6 separate regions of the Homo sapiens genome follow, and regions 2, 3, 4, 5 and 6 are each linked to region 1. The links are contacts of gene promoters, found by promoter capture Hi-C in blood cells and fetal thymus (Javierre and others, 2016). All regions are on one chromosome and are shown on one strand. Each heading gives the region's core, a stretch centred on a gene start or on the middle of the fragment in contact. The rest is flanking DNA. Distances are from core to core; before and after follow the strand shown.

The links. The method cuts DNA at HindIII sites, captures the fragments that hold promoters and counts their contacts. A CHiCAGO score of 5 or more calls a contact.
Region 2: a contact is called between a fragment that was not itself captured here and the fragment with the promoter of AHCYL2 in region 1, in 1 of 17 cell types (neutrophils). The highest score is 12.9, in neutrophils.
Region 3: a contact is called between the fragment with the promoter of HILPDA here and the fragment with the promoter of AHCYL2 in region 1, in 2 of 17 cell types (total B cells and fetal thymus). The highest score is 7.7, in total B cells.
Region 4: a contact is called between a fragment that was not itself captured here and the fragment with the promoter of AHCYL2 in region 1, in 1 of 17 cell types (neutrophils). The highest score is 9.0, in neutrophils.
Region 5: a contact is called between a fragment that was not itself captured here and the fragment with the promoter of AHCYL2 in region 1, in 1 of 17 cell types (neutrophils). The highest score is 6.3, in neutrophils.
Region 6: a contact is called between a fragment that was not itself captured here and the fragment with the promoter of AHCYL2 in region 1, in 1 of 17 cell types (neutrophils). The highest score is 5.3, in neutrophils.

Annotation. Positions count from the first base shown.
Region 1 is chr7:129,223,665-129,226,541 of GRCh38, forward strand. It overlaps AHCYL2 (adenosylhomocysteinase like 2), which reads left to right and starts at 1,366. Exons shown (of 17, transcript NM_015328.4): 1 at 1,366-1,775. The coding sequence starts at 1,413. RefSeq lists an enhancer at 870-979 and silencers at 1,260-1,329, 1,450-1,699. The HindIII fragment of the contact is 12,976 bases long and covers 1-2,684 here.
Region 2 is chr7:130,015,402-130,018,278 of GRCh38, forward strand. All of the region lies in intron 3 of UBE2H-DT (UBE2H divergent transcript), which reads left to right. Among named protein-coding and RNA genes, the nearest start is that of ZC3HC1, 35 kb to the right of the region's middle. The HindIII fragment of the contact is 3,723 bases long and covers 1-2,877 here.
Region 3 is chr7:128,454,409-128,457,285 of GRCh38, forward strand. HILPDA (hypoxia inducible lipid droplet associated) reads left to right here and starts at 1,470. Exons shown (of 2, transcript NM_013332.4): 1 at 1,470-1,615; 2 at 2,793-2,877. The coding sequence starts at 2,861. It also overlaps the pseudogene EFCAB3P1. RefSeq lists enhancers at 1-204, 1,113-1,282 and a silencer at 1,383-1,522. The HindIII fragment of the contact is 2,271 bases long and covers 1-1,519 here.
Region 4 is chr7:129,960,309-129,963,185 of GRCh38, forward strand. All of the region lies in intron 1 of UBE2H-DT (UBE2H divergent transcript), which reads left to right. Among named protein-coding and RNA genes, the nearest start is that of UBE2H-DT, 8.7 kb to the left of the region's middle. The HindIII fragment of the contact is 3,673 bases long and covers 1-2,877 here.
Region 5 is chr7:129,942,273-129,945,149 of GRCh38, forward strand. The region is part of intron 1 of UBE2H (ubiquitin conjugating enzyme E2 H); the gene reads right to left. Among named protein-coding and RNA genes, the nearest start is that of UBE2H, 9.2 kb to the right of the region's middle. The HindIII fragment of the contact is 2,953 bases long and covers 1-2,877 here.
Region 6 is chr7:129,806,751-129,809,627 of GRCh38, forward strand. No RefSeq gene overlaps it. Among named protein-coding and RNA genes, the nearest start is that of MIR183, 33 kb to the left of the region's middle. The HindIII fragment of the contact is 1,397 bases long and covers 815-2,211 here.

The DNA of each region.
Region 1 (2,877 bases), core at 116-2,615:
TTTTCTTTCTTTCTTCCTTTTTTTCTGGGACGGCATCTCACTCCGTTGTCCAGGCTGGAGTGCCGTGGCATGATCTTGGCTCACTGCAGCCTCTGCCTCCCAGGTTCAAGCGATCCTCCTGCCTCAGCCTCCCAAGTAGCTGGGATTTCAGGTGCCCGCCACCACGCCTGGCTAATTTTTGTATTTTTAGTAGAGATGGGGTTTCACCATGTTGGCCAGGCTGGTCTTGAAGTCCTGATCTCAAGTGATCTGCCGGCCTTGGCCTCCCAAAGTGCTGGGATTACAGACGTCAACCACTATGCCCAGCTGGCAAACGATTTTCAAAGGCTGTAACAATTGCTCTATTTGTTGGACATTAGTTTTAGACAGTTTTTTGTTATTAAAAAGGACGCTGCGGTGCATGTCTTTTTGCTTACATCCTCTAAATGTAAAATTTAAAAATAATACAGAAAAGTACAAAGTAAAAATCACCTTAAATCCCATCACTTAGGAAATTAACTACTCATATTCACTATTCATATCCCTCTATGCTGATATATGTATCTGAATTTCAGATGATTGCCCTATTAGAATTATAGGTGAAAAGATTTGGCCTCGTTTAAGGCAACGTGTAATTCCTCAGCCTTGAATTTTGATCTAGTGATACCTAACTTCTTTGAGGAATGATCTTAGCTTCCAAACCCAGAATGTGACAGAAAGCGCCACAGCAAGCAAGGTCCTACTTTATCCCTTCTAAAAACAAAGCCACTGAAGTTTGGAAGGGTGTTGAGTTCTCAATATCACAAAGAAAAATAAAGCCACTTCCAGCCTGGAGCCGCCGCTTCTCCTTTAAATACTCGCTCACGTGATCGCAGACGGGCACGCGCGGAGGAACTTCACGCTGTCAGGACAACGAGCCATTCCTCTACCACTTCCCCTCCCCTAAGGCTTCTTGGCGTTCCCTCCCCGGAAGTCACAACTCCTCTGGAGACTTTCTCTTCCTCATCCCCTCCGTCGAGTCACCTATCCTCACTCCTTTCTGTTAGCTGCCGGCCCTAGCGCTCCCTCTCCTCGGCTGAATCTCACTTAGTGGAGGAAAGGCTGAAAGGACTACAACTCCCAGGGGACGCTGCGGGCCCCGCCCATGGGGCGCGCAGTGTAGGTCGGGGCCTGAGGTCCCACGGTCTTCTCGCCGCGTGCGGCCGGGAGCAAACGCACTACAGGTTCCGTGGCGCCTCGCGCGAGGCCAGACCGGGACGGGGCGGGGCGGGGCTGGAGGGGCCGGGACTGGCGGGCGGAGAAAGGGGGTGGGAGAGGAGGCGATGGAGGGGAGGAGTGGGGACATGGGGGAGGGAAGAGGAAGGGAGGTGGGAGGCGGGGCCGACCAAGAGCAGGAGCTGGAGTCTGAGCCGGTGGTTGCAGCGGAGGCGGTGATGTCGGTGCAGGTTGTGTCAGCCGCGGCTGCCGCCAAGGTGCCTGAGGTGGAGCTGAAGGACCTGAGCCCCTCCGAGGCGGAGTCGCAACTAGGACTGAGCACGGCCGCCGTGGGCGCCATGGCCCCCCCGGCGGGCGGTGGAGACCCTGAGGCTCCAGCTCCCGCCGCGGAGCGGCCCCCGGTCCCCGGCCCGGGCTCGGGGCCCGCCGCCGCTCTCAGCCCCGCCGCCGGGAAGGTGCCTCAGGCGTCGGCCATGAAGCGGAGCGACCCACATCACCAGCACCAGCGGCACCGCGACGGCGGCGAGGCCCTGGTCAGCCCCGACGGCACCGTCACCGAGGCGCCGCGCACAGTCAAGAAGGTACTGGGGCCGGGCTGCCTCTCTAGGAGAGGAAGGGAGGGGAGGGGAACTGCAGATCCTCTCGGCACGGCGGCACCACCCTCCACGCCCTCCTTTCTGATCGCAGGACCGGAGATACCCCTTGTCCCCTTAAACCCACTCTCTCAGAGATGCCCCCCAGCCGGCCCCTCGTGCTGGGAGCGGAGACTCCAGGAGGCACGGCCGTACTTCGCTCTGAATAACATGGAGGTAGCGCTCTCCCCTACTACTTGGAATAGGCAGCGGGAGGAGAGACACCTAATAGTACGTCCCGCGGCCCCAACACGCTCCCGGGTGTGATTTTCCAGCCTATCGGGGAAGAGACCTCGATAGTATAGAAAAACCTTACCGCTCACGGGAGTTCACACAGCAATAAGGATGAAAAGATCTTTAATACTTGGAGAACGAGTAAGGTGTAGTCACCTTGCATAGAAATCGTCAGAGTTGTCTGGTTTCCATACAGTTGATGACTTTCTGCCTTTCTGTGGCCAACCGTGGCCATACAGCAACACGATGCTGTGCCCTTCATTTCCAGCGACTGCGATATTCTCTCTTCCCTGAATATGTAAAAGGGTAATGGAGAGATTCTCCTCACTCTTTCGTGTTAAGAGCTTTGTCCTCCCTGCTGGGTATAGTTGGTCACCAGGATTATTAGGCTGTGTATGAAGAGAATGAATGTCTTATTGATTGCTTTATTATAATCTGAAAGTGATAGGAAGAAATGCTGCTACTTTTGGGAAAGACGATCTTTGTGGGGTTTTCGGTCTTAGGCGTCAGCTTCTTTCAGACAGTTTTGAGGAGGTCTCAGAATACCAAGAAGTAACTGCCTAGGTGGATGATAGCCCTGTATTACCCGTACATTGTCTATCCATAGTTGTCTGTCTCTCTCAAAGCTTGTCTTTCTTTCTCTCTTAAAGCTGAATCAGCACAGAAAAACAGGGCAAGTATTGGAAAAGACAGAAGTGTGGATCATATAAAAAGGGCTTACAGCTTCAATTTCGTAGACACAGTATGGGCACAGGGATTAATGTTTTTTTTAAATTGTTGTGAATGGTTTTTAATTGCTTTATCAGAACAGCAACAA
Region 2 (2,877 bases), core at 233-2,732, 790 kb after region 1:
AATTATGCCCCATTGCAACTGCCATGGCCACTGCCCTCACACTTCCCTTAAATCCTTCTTGTCTTCCCTAAGCCAGGCTATTCAGAGACACTGGAATTATCTTCCTAAGCACAAATGTCTTTTTTTTTTTTTTTTTTTTTTTTCTGAGACAGAGTCTTGCTCTGTCACCCAAGCTAGAGTGCAGTGGCGTGATCTCAGCTCACTACAACCTTCATCTCCCAGGTTCAAGTGATTCTCCTGCCTCAGCCTCCCGAGTAGCTGGGATTATAGTCATGTGCCACCACACCCAGCTAACTTTTGTATTTTTAGTAGAGACGGGCTTTCACCATGTTGGCCAGACTGGTCTCAAACTCCTGACCTCAACTGATCTGCCCGCCTCGGCCTCCCAAAGTGCTGGGATTACAGGCATGAGCCACCATGCCCAGCCCAAAATATTCTTTAAGAGTTTCTCTTTCCCTAGAGAATCAAGTCCAAACTCCTTAGTATAACATACAAGACTCTAATCTGGCCCAACTTCCATTTTCTTTTCCTTTCTTTTCTACTCAACACAGAGTTCTAGCCACAGCAGAATACCTGCTCTTCCTGGAACATATCCTACATGCTGCTCATTTGCTTACAATGCTCCCTCAGTCTCGGATGTGCATATTTTTAACCGAGGGTCTATCACGTGTCAGGCACTGTTTTGAATGTTGAGATTAAAACCAGGACAAAGTCCCTGTTCTCATGGAGCCTGCATCTCCCACTCATCTCCAAGGACCAGCTCAAATCTACACCTTCCTCAAAGTTCTTCCCAACGACACATGACCATTCACTTCTTCCTTTTTTATACCTCTCCTAGACTAGAGCATTTAGCAGTTTGTCCCGCAACATTTATATACCAGTGTGTCTTCTGGCCTGGCCTATATACTTCTTAGAGGTAGAAAGTAGGTAGTCATTCATCTACAGGGGCTAGCACAGTGCCTCACACATGAAAGAGAATGTTTCTTGAATTACACAAAGTCTATCTCAATCTGCTTCAATTTATATTTTTATTTACATATTTATTTTTGAGACAGGGTCTCACTCTGTTGCCCAGGCTGGAGTGAGTGCAACGGTGATCTTAGCTCACTGCAGTCTGCCTTTCTGGGCTCAAGAGATCCTCCCAGCTCAGCCTCCTGAGTAGCTGAGACTACAGGCAAAAGCCACCATACCTCACTAATTTTTTTCTATTTTTCGTTTAAGACAGGATTTCTCCTTGTTGCCCAGGCTGGTCTTGAACTCCTAGACTTGAGTGATCCTCCTGCCTCAGCCTCCCAAAGTGTTGGGATTGTAGGCATGAGGCATCATGCCTGGCCTCTGCTTCCATTTATGATTTTATTTTATTTTTTAATTTATTATTATTATTATTTTTGAGATGGAGTCTCGCTCTGTTGCCCAGGCTGGAGTGCAGTGGTCGATCTCGGCTCACTGTAAGCTCCGCCTCCCGGGTTCGCGCCATTCTCCTGCGCTCAGTAGCTGGAACTACAGGCGCCCGCCACCACGCCCAGCTAGTTTTTTATATTTTTAATAGAGATGGTGTTTCACCGTGTTAGCCAGGATGGTCTCGATCTCCTCACCTCGTGATCCGCCAGCCTCGGCCTCCCAAAGTGCTGGGATTACAGGCGTGAGCCACTGTGCCTGGCCATTTTATTTTTATTTTTTGACCTGGACTCTTGCTCTGACGCCAAGGCTGGAGTGTAATGGCGGCAATCTCACTGTAGCCTCCTCCCCCGGGGTTCCAGCTATTCTCCTGCCTCTGCCTCCAGAGCAGCTGGGATTACAGGTGCACGCCGCCACACACGGCTGATTTTTGTATTTTTAATAGAGACAGGGTTTCACCATGTTGGCCAGGCTGATCTTGAACTCCTGACCTCAGGTGATCCGCCCACCTTGGCCTCCCAAAGTGCTGGGATTACAGGCGTGAGCCACCACGCCCGGTCAGATTATTAATTTTTGTTGGGTGTAATATGTTGGAGAAAAGTTATATATATATAAAAATATACATAAATATATATATATATATATAATGAGACGGAGTCTTGCTCTGTCACCCAGGCTGGAGTGCAGCAGACGATCTCGGCTCGCTGTAGCTTCCACCTCCTGGGTTCAAACGATTCTCCTGTCTCAGCCTCTCCAGTAGCTGGGACACCAGGCACCCGTCACCACGCCTGGCTAATTTTTGTATTTTTAGTAGAGATAGGGTTTCACCATGTTGGCCAGGTTGGTCTTGAACTCTTGACCTCAAGTGATCTGCCCACCTTGGCCTCCCAAAGTGCTGGGATTACAGGTGTGAGCTACCGCACCTGGCCTAGGTTCTATTTTTTAGAGATTAAACTATGAGTAAAATATTATGTGTTATTTTCTTTAAAATACTTCAGTACAAAAGTATAAAACAAAACAATCTCAGTGACGAAAAACATGGCATATCAGAGAATAATCACTTTCTAGCCTTTGCTAGGTCATGGTTACTTTATCAGTGGGCAGTTCAGGGTCCACCTTCTCTACCACAAAAACTGATGATCCCCCAAAAGCAACGAGTCTTGGGGAAGCCCAACTGGGGGACTCATGCATTCAATGGCACATGGAGAGGGGTCTCTTCTGAAGTGCCTTCCTCCCCATTACATTGTTTTATTCTGTTATTATCAAAGCAAGGAGAAAATTATCAGTTGACCATTCACTATAACACACCAGGAAATTTCCTGGTGGCATAATGAAAATCATCTTGCTTTTGGTTTAGGAAAGATTATACCTCCTTGACTGGAATCACAAATTTTAGGCTTTGCAGCCAATCTGAAAATCAAAAGTTGAATGTTCCACTGAAGTTTCTCCGGCCCACAGGGCAAGGGGGAAAACAGTTCT
Region 3 (2,877 bases), core at 220-2,719, 770 kb before region 1:
TCAAGCAAAAAAACAGACGAAACTCTGGTATAGCGAAGGACCAAAAGTTCTGCGGGCTGAGCAGGAAAGTTGGCTCCAAATGTCTGCCTGCCTGCCAGCAGACCTCCAGCCCCAACCTTCTGCTTTCCCGGCTTCCCCACCCCCTCATTCCCGACAGACCACAGCCAGCCAGCCAGGAAAGGAGGGGAAAGGTCGCAGTGGGGATGGCTCCTCCCTTCCCGTCTTAGAGCCCTTCTTAAGCAGAGCCCGCCGAGCTCGCTGAGATGTGGAAAGTCACAGGGTTCTTTCCCATCCGGCACGGGCACTTGACCCGGGTACACGGAACCGCCAGTTCTAAAGCCACCAGCGGCCTTCCCTTCCACGGCGTGTACACCCCTTCCCGGGGGTCCTCCCCATTCCCAGTGTCTCTCCGGGACTCTACTTTCTGAGATCCCCCGTTGCGTGCTCTCAAGACAGACCGCACAGTCTTGGCTGGGTGGGTTCGGGGGTGATTAGTAAGGCAGCCTAGCCCCCCAAATCTGGACATAAGGCTGGTCTGTGACCTCCTGGCTCTTTAGTTCAAGCCGAAAGCACCCTTAAAAATCATCTAGCGGCCGGGCGCGGTGGCTCACGCCTGTAGCCCCAGCACTTTGGGAGGCAGAGGTGGGAGGATGGCTTGAGATCAGGAGTTCGAGACCAGCCTGGGCAACATAGCGAGACTGTCTCTATTTAAAAAAAAAAAAGAAGAAGAAGAAGAAAAATCATCTAGTGGCCAATGTCTTCATTACAGATGAGAAAACCGAGGCCCATTTAAATACCAAGTGACTTGCCCATATGCAGTTAGGATCCCACACCAGGGCCAGGAGTATTTCACGTTTTCTGAAGCGACACGACAAACTCTCATAGAAAGCAGAGCTTGCAGAGCTTAATATGTTGCACAAGGGCCTCACCATTCCAGAGATACCGATGGCAACTGAAACTCGGGATTTGGAATCTTGGTACAGCTATGAAGTGAAACAAAACCAGCTCTTCAGTCCTTGAAATGAAGAAAATAACGAGTGGGGTAGGGGTCTGGTGCCCTCTGACAATTTAGTGCACCCGAAATCTCTGGGGAAGAACCCACCCTTCACGGCGGGGCTTCACGGACACGAAGGCCATCGGTGTTTTTCACCTACTGGGGAGAAGGGATATGTGCTCTCTGACTCCTTCAAATGTTTTCTACAGCAGAGATGGCAGTCGAGATTAATACACACGCCTCGTCTCACTCCAGAACACAATGACTCAAAACCGCACGACGTGTACTTTTGGAAACAGCTCCGCGGGAGAGCACCCGGGACAATCCCCAAACCCCGTTGCCCGCGGGGTGGGGCCGCGGACGTGCGCCACGTCGTGTGCGTCCCGGGCGTGCGTGCGGCCTCCAGTGCGCGTGCGCGTACCCTCCTGGGGCGTGCTCGCGGCTATAAGGGGCGGAGGCTGGGCGGCGTTGCTCTGCGCTCTGCGGCTGACGGCGCTTTTGTCTCCGGTGAGTTTTGTGGCGGGAAGCTTCTGCGCTGGTGCTTAGTAACCGACTTTCCTCCGGACTCCTGCACGACCTGCTCCTACAGCCGGCGATCCACTCCCGGCTGTTCCCCCGGAGGTGAGCGGCCCTGTGGGCTTCCCCGGCTCCCCACCCCCATCGCTAGAGTGCTCGCCGCGCTAGCAGCCTCGCGTTCCAGGGCTGGGGGTGCGCCGCCGGGATCCTCTCTGATCGCCCACGCCCCATCTGGGGTCCCCATTCAGCCGTCAGCCCTGTTTTGTCCTAAGGTGGTCCTAACTAGGATCCACGTGGCCCATCCCACGCCCACAGGTGCTGAGTTAGGCATCCCTGCCATGCCCTCCCAGAGCACCTTCACGATCTCCTTGCTGTCCCAACACTTAGCGTGTTGCGTGTTAACTACCCTTTGTCTATAAGGTTTGCAATGTGGCCCTAGTATCTTCCAGGGTACCTAACACATTGCAGATATTCATGGTATGTTTGTTAAATAAATGAACTTGATAGATTTGACCCTCATAGAGTTATTTGGACTTGCAAAAAGTTTGTAGTTAACTCCAATCTGTGATGTGGGAGAGACTTCTAGGCAGGTTCCTTTCTCCAGGGCATGTTCTTATATTTCCCATTACCCACCACCCCCCTGCAAAAGGACTGGGCCTATTTCAGGAAGGTGACTGATGCCTGCACTGTAGCACAGGGGTTGTGTATTGTGCCTTGCAGGAACAAAATTTTCAATAAAGTAAATGTTTGTTTGTTTGTTTTTGAGACGGAGTTTTGCTTTTGTTGCCGAGGCTGGAGTGCAATGGCGCGATCTTGGCTCACTGCAACCTCTGCCTCCCGGGTTCAAGCAATTCTGCCTCAGCCTCCCGAGTAGCTGGGATTACAGGCATGTGCCACTATGCCCGGCTAATTTTTGTATTTGTAGTAGAGACAGGGTTTCACCATGTTGGTCAGGCTGGTCTCGAATTCCTGACCTCAGGTGATCCACCCGCCTCGGCCTCCCAGAGCGCTGGGATTACAGGTATGAGCCACCGCGCCTGGCCTAAGAAAGTAAAAGTTTTAAGAAGTGTTCTTGAATTAGTCCAAGAAGCAACACTGGCTCCGCAGCCATGAAGTTTGCAATGTAAAATATTCTTGGAGAGTTGCTGTGCAACTCCCTGGTCCCTGTGTCCCTCACTGGCTAAGCCTCTCCTTCAGCCCTGTGAGAGGACAGAAGAGTCAGGGCTGGATGCATGCATATCCCCAAAAGGCTATAGATTCATCCTTTCCTCTTTTTTCTCAGGGTCCAGAGGCCTTTCAGAAGGAGAAGGCAGCTCTGTTTCTCTGCAGAGGAGTAGGGTCCTTTCAGCCATGAAGCATGTGTTGAA
Region 4 (2,877 bases), core at 186-2,685, 740 kb after region 1:
AACACCCAGACTCTTAAAGGTCTCACCTCTTCTTTTTTTTTGAGACGGAGTTTAGCTCTTGTTGCCCAAGCTGGAGTGCAATGGTGCCATCTTGGCTCACTGCAACCTCTGCCTCCCAGGTTAAAGCGATTCTCCTGCCTCAGCCTCTCAAGTAGCTGGGATTACAGACACCCGCCACCATACCCAGCTAATTTTTTTGCGTATTTTTGGTAGAAACAAGGTTTCACCATGTTGGCCAGGCTGGTCTGAAACTCCTGACCTCAGGTGATGCACCCACCTCGGCCTCCCAAAGTGCTGGGATTGCAGGCGTGAGCCACCACACCTAGCTTCTCTTTTATTTTTAATTAATTAATTAATTAATTAATATATTTATTTTTGAGACAGAGTTTTGCTTTTGTTGCCCAGGCTGGAGTGCAATGGCGCGATCTCGGCTCACCACAACCTCCGCCTCCTGGGTTCAAGCGATTCTCCTGCCTCAGCCTCCCAAGTAGCTGGGATCACAGGAATGTGCCACCACACCCGGCTACTTTTGTATTTTTAGTAGAGATGGGGTTTTTCCATGTTGGTCAGGCTAGTCTCGAACTCCCAACCTCAGGTGATCCACCCGCCTCAGCCTCCCAAAGGGCTGGGATTATAGGCATGAGCCACCGCACCCGGCGACTATTCATTTATTTTTTGAGATGGAGTTTTGCTCTTATTGCCCAGGCTGGAATGCAGTGGCGTGATCTCGGCTCACAGAAACCTCTGCCTCCTGGGTTCAAGCGATTCTCCTGCCTCAGCCTCCCAAATAGCTGGGATTCCAGGCATGTGCCACCACGCCCAGCTAATTTTGTATTTTTAGTAGAGACTGGGTTTCTCCATGTTGGTCAGGCTGGTCTCAAACTCTTGACCTCAGGTGATCCACTTGCCTGGGCCTCCCAGAGTGCTGGGATTACAGGCGTGAGCCACTGCACCCAGCTGTCTTTTCTTTTTTAAGAGGTGATTAGGTTGTGAGGGCTCTGTGTTATTCTGTTATAGCAACAGAAAAAAGACTAAGACACCCCTGAACTCAGAGGCATATACATAGCTGCCTGTGCGACATCTCATGTCCAAAAATAAATTTCTGATACCACCTCCTCACCTCTTCCTCACATACTTTTCCCCATCTCAGTCAATGACAACTATTAAGTTGAAATATATGAAATTGCCTTTTAAGGTTAAGAACTATCAAATATTGGTGATTTCATTTGGTTCAACCTAATACATTCTTCTAGCTGCTCAGGCCAAGGGCCTTGAATTACGGTCCCCGACCCTTCTTGTTCTTTAGCCCCTTCATCCAATTATCAGGAAATCCTGTTGGCCCTACCGTCAAAATATATCCAGAATCTTTTCCTTGCCTTCTCTACCAAGCCATCATCTCTTACATAGATTGCTATAATCACTTCCCAGTTGGCCTCACTTCTTCAAACCCTGTATTCAACTCAGAAGCCAGTGAGCCTAACTATAAAGCAAATCTTGTCTCCCTACTGTTCAAAACCCTCCAAGAGCTTCCCAGTTCACATCGTGACATCATGTAAAAGTCAAAGCCATCACAGGCATTCAAAGCCCTACAGGAGCTGCCCTATCCGATTCTGTCACTCACTCCTTTCTACCCACACTGGTCTTTTTCATTTTTTCTTTTTTCACATGTAGATATATATTTTAAGACTAGTCAAGTGAAGCAGTGGGGATGGAGAAGGAACAAAGAAATCTGTAATCAAGAGTTGTAAACACTGCACTCAGACCAGCCCACATTGGGTTTCTTGCTGTTCCTCATATACACCAAGCATGCCCCGGCCTGGGGTCCTTTGCACTTTGCTACTTTCTCAGCCTAAAATATTCTTCCCCTAGATAAGCATATGGCCTGCTCCCTAATGTCCTTTGAGTCTTTGCTGAAATGTCACCTTCTCAGTAGAGCCTTCCCTGAGCACCTTAGTATTTAATTATTTAGAGATAGGGCCTTGCTCTGTCGTCCAGGCTAGAGTGTCTTGGTGCTATTATGCCTCACACAGCCTCAAACTCCCAGGCTCAAGTGATCCTCCCACCTCAGGCCCCCAAGTAGCTGGGACTACAGCTGTGTGCCACCATACCTGGCTGACTTTTTTTTTTTTTTGGTAGACATAGGGTCTCGCTATGCTGCCCAGGCTGGTCTTGAACTCCTGGGCTCAGGTTACCCTCCTACCTCAGACTCCCAAAGTGCTGGAATTATAGACATGAGCCGCTGTACCCAGCTTATTTATTGATTGATTTTTGAGACAGAGTCTCACTCTGTCAACCAGGGTGGAGTGCAATGGCACAATCTCCACTCACTGCAACCTCCCTCTCCCAGGTTCAAGTGATTCTCATGTCTCACCCTTCCAAATAGCTGGGATTACAGGCACCTGCCACCATGCCTGGCTAATTTTTGTATTTTCAGTAGAGACGGGGTTTTGCCATGTTGGCCAGGCTGGTCTATGAACTCCTGACCTCAGGTGATCCATCCGCCTCGGCCTCCCAAAGTGCTGGGATTACAGGCATGAGCCACTGCGACCAGCCTATTTATTTATTTATTTATTTATTTATTATTATTTTTTGAGACAGAGTCTCGCCCTGTCACCCAGGCTGGAGTGCAGTGACATGATTGCGGCTCACTGCAACCTCCGCCTCCCGGGTTCAAGCGATTCTTCTGCCTCAGCCTCCCAAGTAGCTGGGACTATAGGCGCGTGCCACCACACCTGGCTAATTTTTGTAGTTTTTAGTAGAGGTGGGGTTTCACCATGTTGGCCAGGCTGGTATTGAACTTCTGACCTCGTGATCCACCCACCTTGGCCTCCCAAAGTGCTAGGATTACAGGCGTGAGCCACCGCGCCCGGCCATTTA
Region 5 (2,877 bases), core at 190-2,689, 720 kb after region 1:
ACCTGTAATCCCAGCACTCTGGGAGGCCAAGGCAGGGGGATCACCTCTCTACTAAAAATAAAAAATTAGCCAGGCGTGGTGGCACATGCCTGTAATCCCAGCTACTCAGGAGGCTGAGGCAGGAGAATCGCTTGAACCTGGGAGGCAGAGGTCGCAGTGAGCCGAGATCATGCCATTGCACTCCAGCCTGGGCAACAAGAGTGAAACTCCGTCTCTCACACACACAAAAATTCCAGGAAAGCATGATATCAAAGGATATCCTAACTCTTATAGTCTGTTTCCCATTCTGTCACTGAGCTGCTGTTAGTTCCTTTCACCTGAGTTTATTCCATGTGAAAATTGAAGATATTATTCAGACTTCAACAGAGTGCTCCAGAAATATTTATCAACTGCTGTAAACTTCACTAGAAATGCTAAAGAAATGTTAAAAAAAATCTTATCAATACTTTACAAAGAAAATAATACCATCAACAAAAAGTGTGCTTACCTATTCACAAAGATATAGAGCCTTACTAGCAAATATAAAAATAAAATTGCTGTTTGTGACTATGATCCTAAAGTGTAATGTGTTTTTTTTTTTGTTTTTTGAGATGGAGTCTTGCTCTGTTCCCCGGGGTTGGAGTGCAGTGGCATAATCTCGGCTCACCACAACCTCCGACTCCCAGGTTCAAGCAATTCTCCTGCCTCAGCCTCCTGAGTAGCTGGGATTACAGGTGTGCACCACCACACCCAGCTAGTTTTTGCATTTTTAGTAGAGATGGGGTTTCGCCATGTTGGCCAGGTTGGTCTTGAACTCTTGACCTCAGGTGATCTGCCCACCTCAGCCTCCCAAAGTGCCAGGATTACAGGCATGAGCCACTATGGCCGGCCAGATTCCTAAAGTGTAATTTCAAAGGGCCACAAAACATTTTTTTTAGACAGGGCCTTGCCCTGTCACCCAGGCTGGACTGCAGTGGCATGATCTTAACTCACCACAACCTCTGCCTCCTGGGCTTAAGTGATCCTTCTGCCTCAGCCCCCAGAGTAGCTGGGATTACAAGTGCATGCCACCATACCTGGCTAATTTTTTATCTGTTTTGGTAGAAATAGGCTTTTGCCATGTAGCTCAGGCTAACAAAAATATTTCACAATAAAAATTTAATTTACTAATTTCAAATGGGGGTGGGGAGAGAAGAGTAGCTACCAAATCAGCTTTAACCAAATTCAGCTAGAAATCAATGCTTTAGGCCAAGCGCCGGGAGGCAGAGGTTGCAGTGAGTTGAAATCGCACCACTGCACTCTAGCCTGGGCAACACAGCCAGACTCCGTCTAAAAACACAAACACAAAAACAAACAAAAAACCAGATTGGCCAGGCATCGTGGCTCACACCTGTAATCCCAGTACTTGAGAGGCAGAGGCAGGCGGATCACCTGAGGTCAAGAGTTCAAGACCAACCTGGCCAACATGGCAAAACCCTGTCTCTAACTAAAAATACAAAAATTAGCTGGGTGTGGTGGCAGGCCCCTGTAATCCCAGCTACTCGGGAGGGTGAGGCAGGAGAATCGCTTGAACTCAGGAGGCAGAGGTTGCAGAGAGCCAGTCTGGGCGACAGAGCGAGACTGATTCTGTCTTTAAAAAAGGAAGATAAAGTGTTTAAATCATTATTCAAGTGAAAGGTATCACAATCATTGTGGTAAAATTTGTTTTATTGATAAAAAAATTAACAAAATTCATATACTATAAAATAAGGTTAATAATAAAAAATAAATCAGTGCTTTAAGAGCATGTAATTTAACATGATTCCTTTAAAATACACAAGTGAGGCCAGGCGCTGTGGCTCATGCCTGTAATCCCAGCACTTTGGGAGGCCACGGTGGGCAGATCATGAGGTCAGGAGATCAAGACCATCCTCGCTAACATGGTGAAACCCTGTCGCTACTAAAAATACAAAAAATTAGCCAGGCTTGGTGGCGGGTGCCTGTAGTTCCAGCTACTCAGGAGGCCGAGGCAGGAGAATGGCGTGAACCCAGGAGGCGGAGCTGGCAGTGAGCCGAGATCGCGCCACTACACTCAGCCTGGGCGACAGAGCGAAGACTCCGTCTCAAAACAAAACAAAACAAAACAAAACACACAAGTGAAACAACCGTTGTCACAATTTTATTTGGGTGTGAAATATGGACCATCATCAGTAAACATTAAATTCAAACTACGTGTTAAACATGGCTGGGCACAGCGGCTTACATCTGTAATCCCAGCACTTTGGGAGGCCAAGGCCAGAGGATCACTTAAGCCCAGGAATTTGAGACCAGCCTGGCCAACAGTGAGACCTCATCTCTACAAAAAAAATAAAATTAGCCAGGCAAGTGGCCACGACTGCAGTGAGCTGAGATCACACCATGAACTCTCATCTGGGCAACAGAGTGAAATCCTGTCTCAAAACACACACGTGCGCATGCGCTCAAAACACACACACACACACACACACACACACACACACACGCACGCACGCACGCGCATGCGCAAACCCTACCACATGATCTAGCTTAGCCAAGAGAAAAAAAAGCGTATATCCATACAATGTTCATAGCAACTTTACTGGTAATAGCCCAAAACTGGAAATAACCCAAATGCCACCAAGCATTAAGAGGTGAATGCATAAACAAATTGTGGTATATCCACATAATAGAATACTACTCAGCAATAAAAAAAAAATGAACTAAATAACATGGGTGAATCTCAGAATTATAAGTGAAAGAACCCACACAAAAAGAGTATGTACTGAATGATTCCGCTTATATATACAATTCTAGAAAATGTAAAATAATCTACAGTGACAGAAATGAGATCAATGGTTGGAAGGGAGGGAGGGAAAGATTACAAAGGGCCACAAGAAACTT
Region 6 (2,877 bases), core at 263-2,762, 580 kb after region 1:
AACAAAAGAAATCTAAACAGGCAATCATTTCATATATTATGACAAAATGATGGTCTAGGCACACACCATCAGGATATACCATCCGGATGTATGAGAAAGCAACAGTATTTGTCTTAGTCTATTTTGTAAGAGAATACCTGAGACCAGGTAACTTATAAAGAACAGAGATTCTTTTTTTTTGAGACAGAGTCTTACTCTGTTGCCTAGGCTGGAGTGCCGTGGCACAATCTCAGCTCATTGCAACCTCTGCTTCCCCAGTTCAAACAATTCTCCTGCCTCAGCCTCCCAAGTAGCTGGGATCACAGGTGCCCGCCACCACACCCGGCTAATTTTTTGTATTTTTAGCAGAGACAGGGTTTCACCATGTTGGCCAGGCTGGTCTTGAACTCCTGACCTCAGGTGATCCACATGCCTTGGCCTCCCAAAGTGCTGGGATTACAGGCGTGAACCACTACGTCCAGCTAGGAACAGAGATTCATTTCTTACATTTCTGGAGGCTGGAAAATCCAAGGCTGAGAGGCCTGCATCTGGGCCTCTGGCTGTGTCTGTCATCCCATAACAAGAGGTGGAAGGGCAAAAAAGCATGAGAGAGAAAGAGAGAGAGAGAGAGAAAGCAAGAGAGTACCAAACTTGCTTTTATAATAAACCCGCTCCGCTGATAAGGACATTAATCCACACACAAAGTCAGAGCCCTTGCAAAAGGTCCCAGTCTCAACATTGCTGCACTGGGGATTAAGTTTCTGAGACATGATCATTGAGGGACACATTCAAACCATAGCAGTATTTTAAACAATATGGTGCCCAGCAAAATAAAAGCTTCAATAATTGAAACAAAATGAAGAGTTTGGAAGTAGAGCTAATGAACATAAATATTTGATGTGAGAGAAAGCACGTTTGAAAGCAAGGAGGTAGGAAAAGTGAATCTCTATCCATCTCTCTCCCTAGGTCCCTAGGTAACCTCATTCAATTCCACAGGCTTTCAATATTATCTGTGTGCGAATGACTCCCAAACTGGATATATCCACAAGGCCTTGCCCCTGAACACAGCACCCATTTCTATAATTTCCTGCCTGACATTTTCACCTGCTGAGTGATCCTCTTAAACTCACCATATCCCTCCCTCCCCAAATTCCTCCTGTGCCTCCTTTCTCATCTCAGTAGGTAGAATTCTCACTACCTGGTTGCTCAAATAGAAGTCCAGGCTTCATCATCAATTCTTCTTTCTCTCCCCAGCACATCCACTCCAAAGCAAGCCCGCCCCCTCCATTGGCCCATCCTTGCCCAGGCCACCACCTCTCCAGCCTGGATTGTGACACTGCCCTCTGGCTTCCATGCATGCTCTCTATCTCCTCTCTCCTCTCCTCTCCTCTCCTCTCCCCTCCCCTTCCCTCTTCTCTATTCTTTTCTTTTCTTTGATGGAGTCTCGCTCTGTCACCCAGGCTGGAGTACACTGGCACTATCTCAGCTCACTGCAACCTCCACCTCCTGGGTTCAAGCGATTCTCCTGCCTCAGCCTCCCAAGTAGCTGGGATTATAGGCCTATGCCACCACACATGGCTAATTTTTGTATTTTTAGTACAGATGGGGTTTTGCCATGTTGGCCAGGCTGGTCTCAAACTCCTGACCTCAGGTGATCCACCTGTCTCAGCCTCCCAAAGTGCTGGGATTACAGGCATGAGCCACCGCACCCAGCCAATATATTTTCCATACGGCAGCTGGAGATAACATCAACATATTTTCAGTCAGGCAAGGTACCTCATGCCTGTAATCCCAGCACTTTGGGAAGCCAAGGCAGGAGGATCCTTGAGCCCAGACGTTCAAGAGCAGCCTGGACAACATAGAGAGACCCTGTCTCTATTAAAACAAACTAGCCAGCTGCGGTGGTGCATGCCTGTAGTCCCAGCTACCTGGGAGGCTGAGGTAAGAGGATCACTTGGGCCCAGGAGGTTGAGGCTGCAGTGAGCCATGATCATGCCACTGCACTCCAGCCTGGGTGACAGAGTGAGACACTGTCTCAAAATAAATTTTAAAAATAAAATAAAACAAAATGTTTTTCACATCCACTTTTACCTGGCCTGGCTCCCCCCCACCCTTCTGAACCCCACTTGCCATCGATGGCATTCTGAAGGTTCATTGCCTCTGGGTACAAAAACCTTCAGAGATGCAAACAAACGCATAATTTGAAAATCTGCTTTGGGGATGGCTCCCAAAAGCTTAATCAGGCCTATAAGTTTCCGGGCCTTTCCTTGTCATTTCTGTGTATCTGTTAAGGGTGAAGCAGGGGTTAAAAACTGTACTTCCACCAGGCGCAGCGGCCATACCTGTAATCCCAGCACTTTGGGAGGCCGAGGCGGGCGGATCATGAGGTCAGGAGATCGAGACCATCCTAGCTAAAACGGTGAAACCCCATCTCTACTAAAAATACAAAAAATTAGGTGGGCGTGGTGGTGGGCGGCTGTAGTCCCAGCTACTCAGGAGGCTGAGGCAGGAGAATGGCGTGAACCCGGGAGGTGGAGCTTGCAGTGAGCTGAGATCACGCCACTGCACTCCAGCCTGGGCGACAGAGCGACACTCCGTCTCAAACAAAAACAAAAACAAAAACAAAAAAAGTGTACTTTCAGCCGGGTGTGGTGGCTCATGCCTATAATCCCAGTGCTTTGGGAGGCCAAGCAGGCAGATCACCTGAGGTCAGGAGTTCAAGACCAGCCTGGCCAACATGATGAAACTCTGTCTCTACTAAAAATACAAAAATTAGCCAGGCATGGTGGCAGTGCCTGTAATCCCAGCTACTTGGAGGGCTGAGGCACAAGAATTGCTTGAACCCAGGAGGCAGGGGCTGTGGTGAGCCAAGATAATGCTACTGCACTCCAGCCTGAG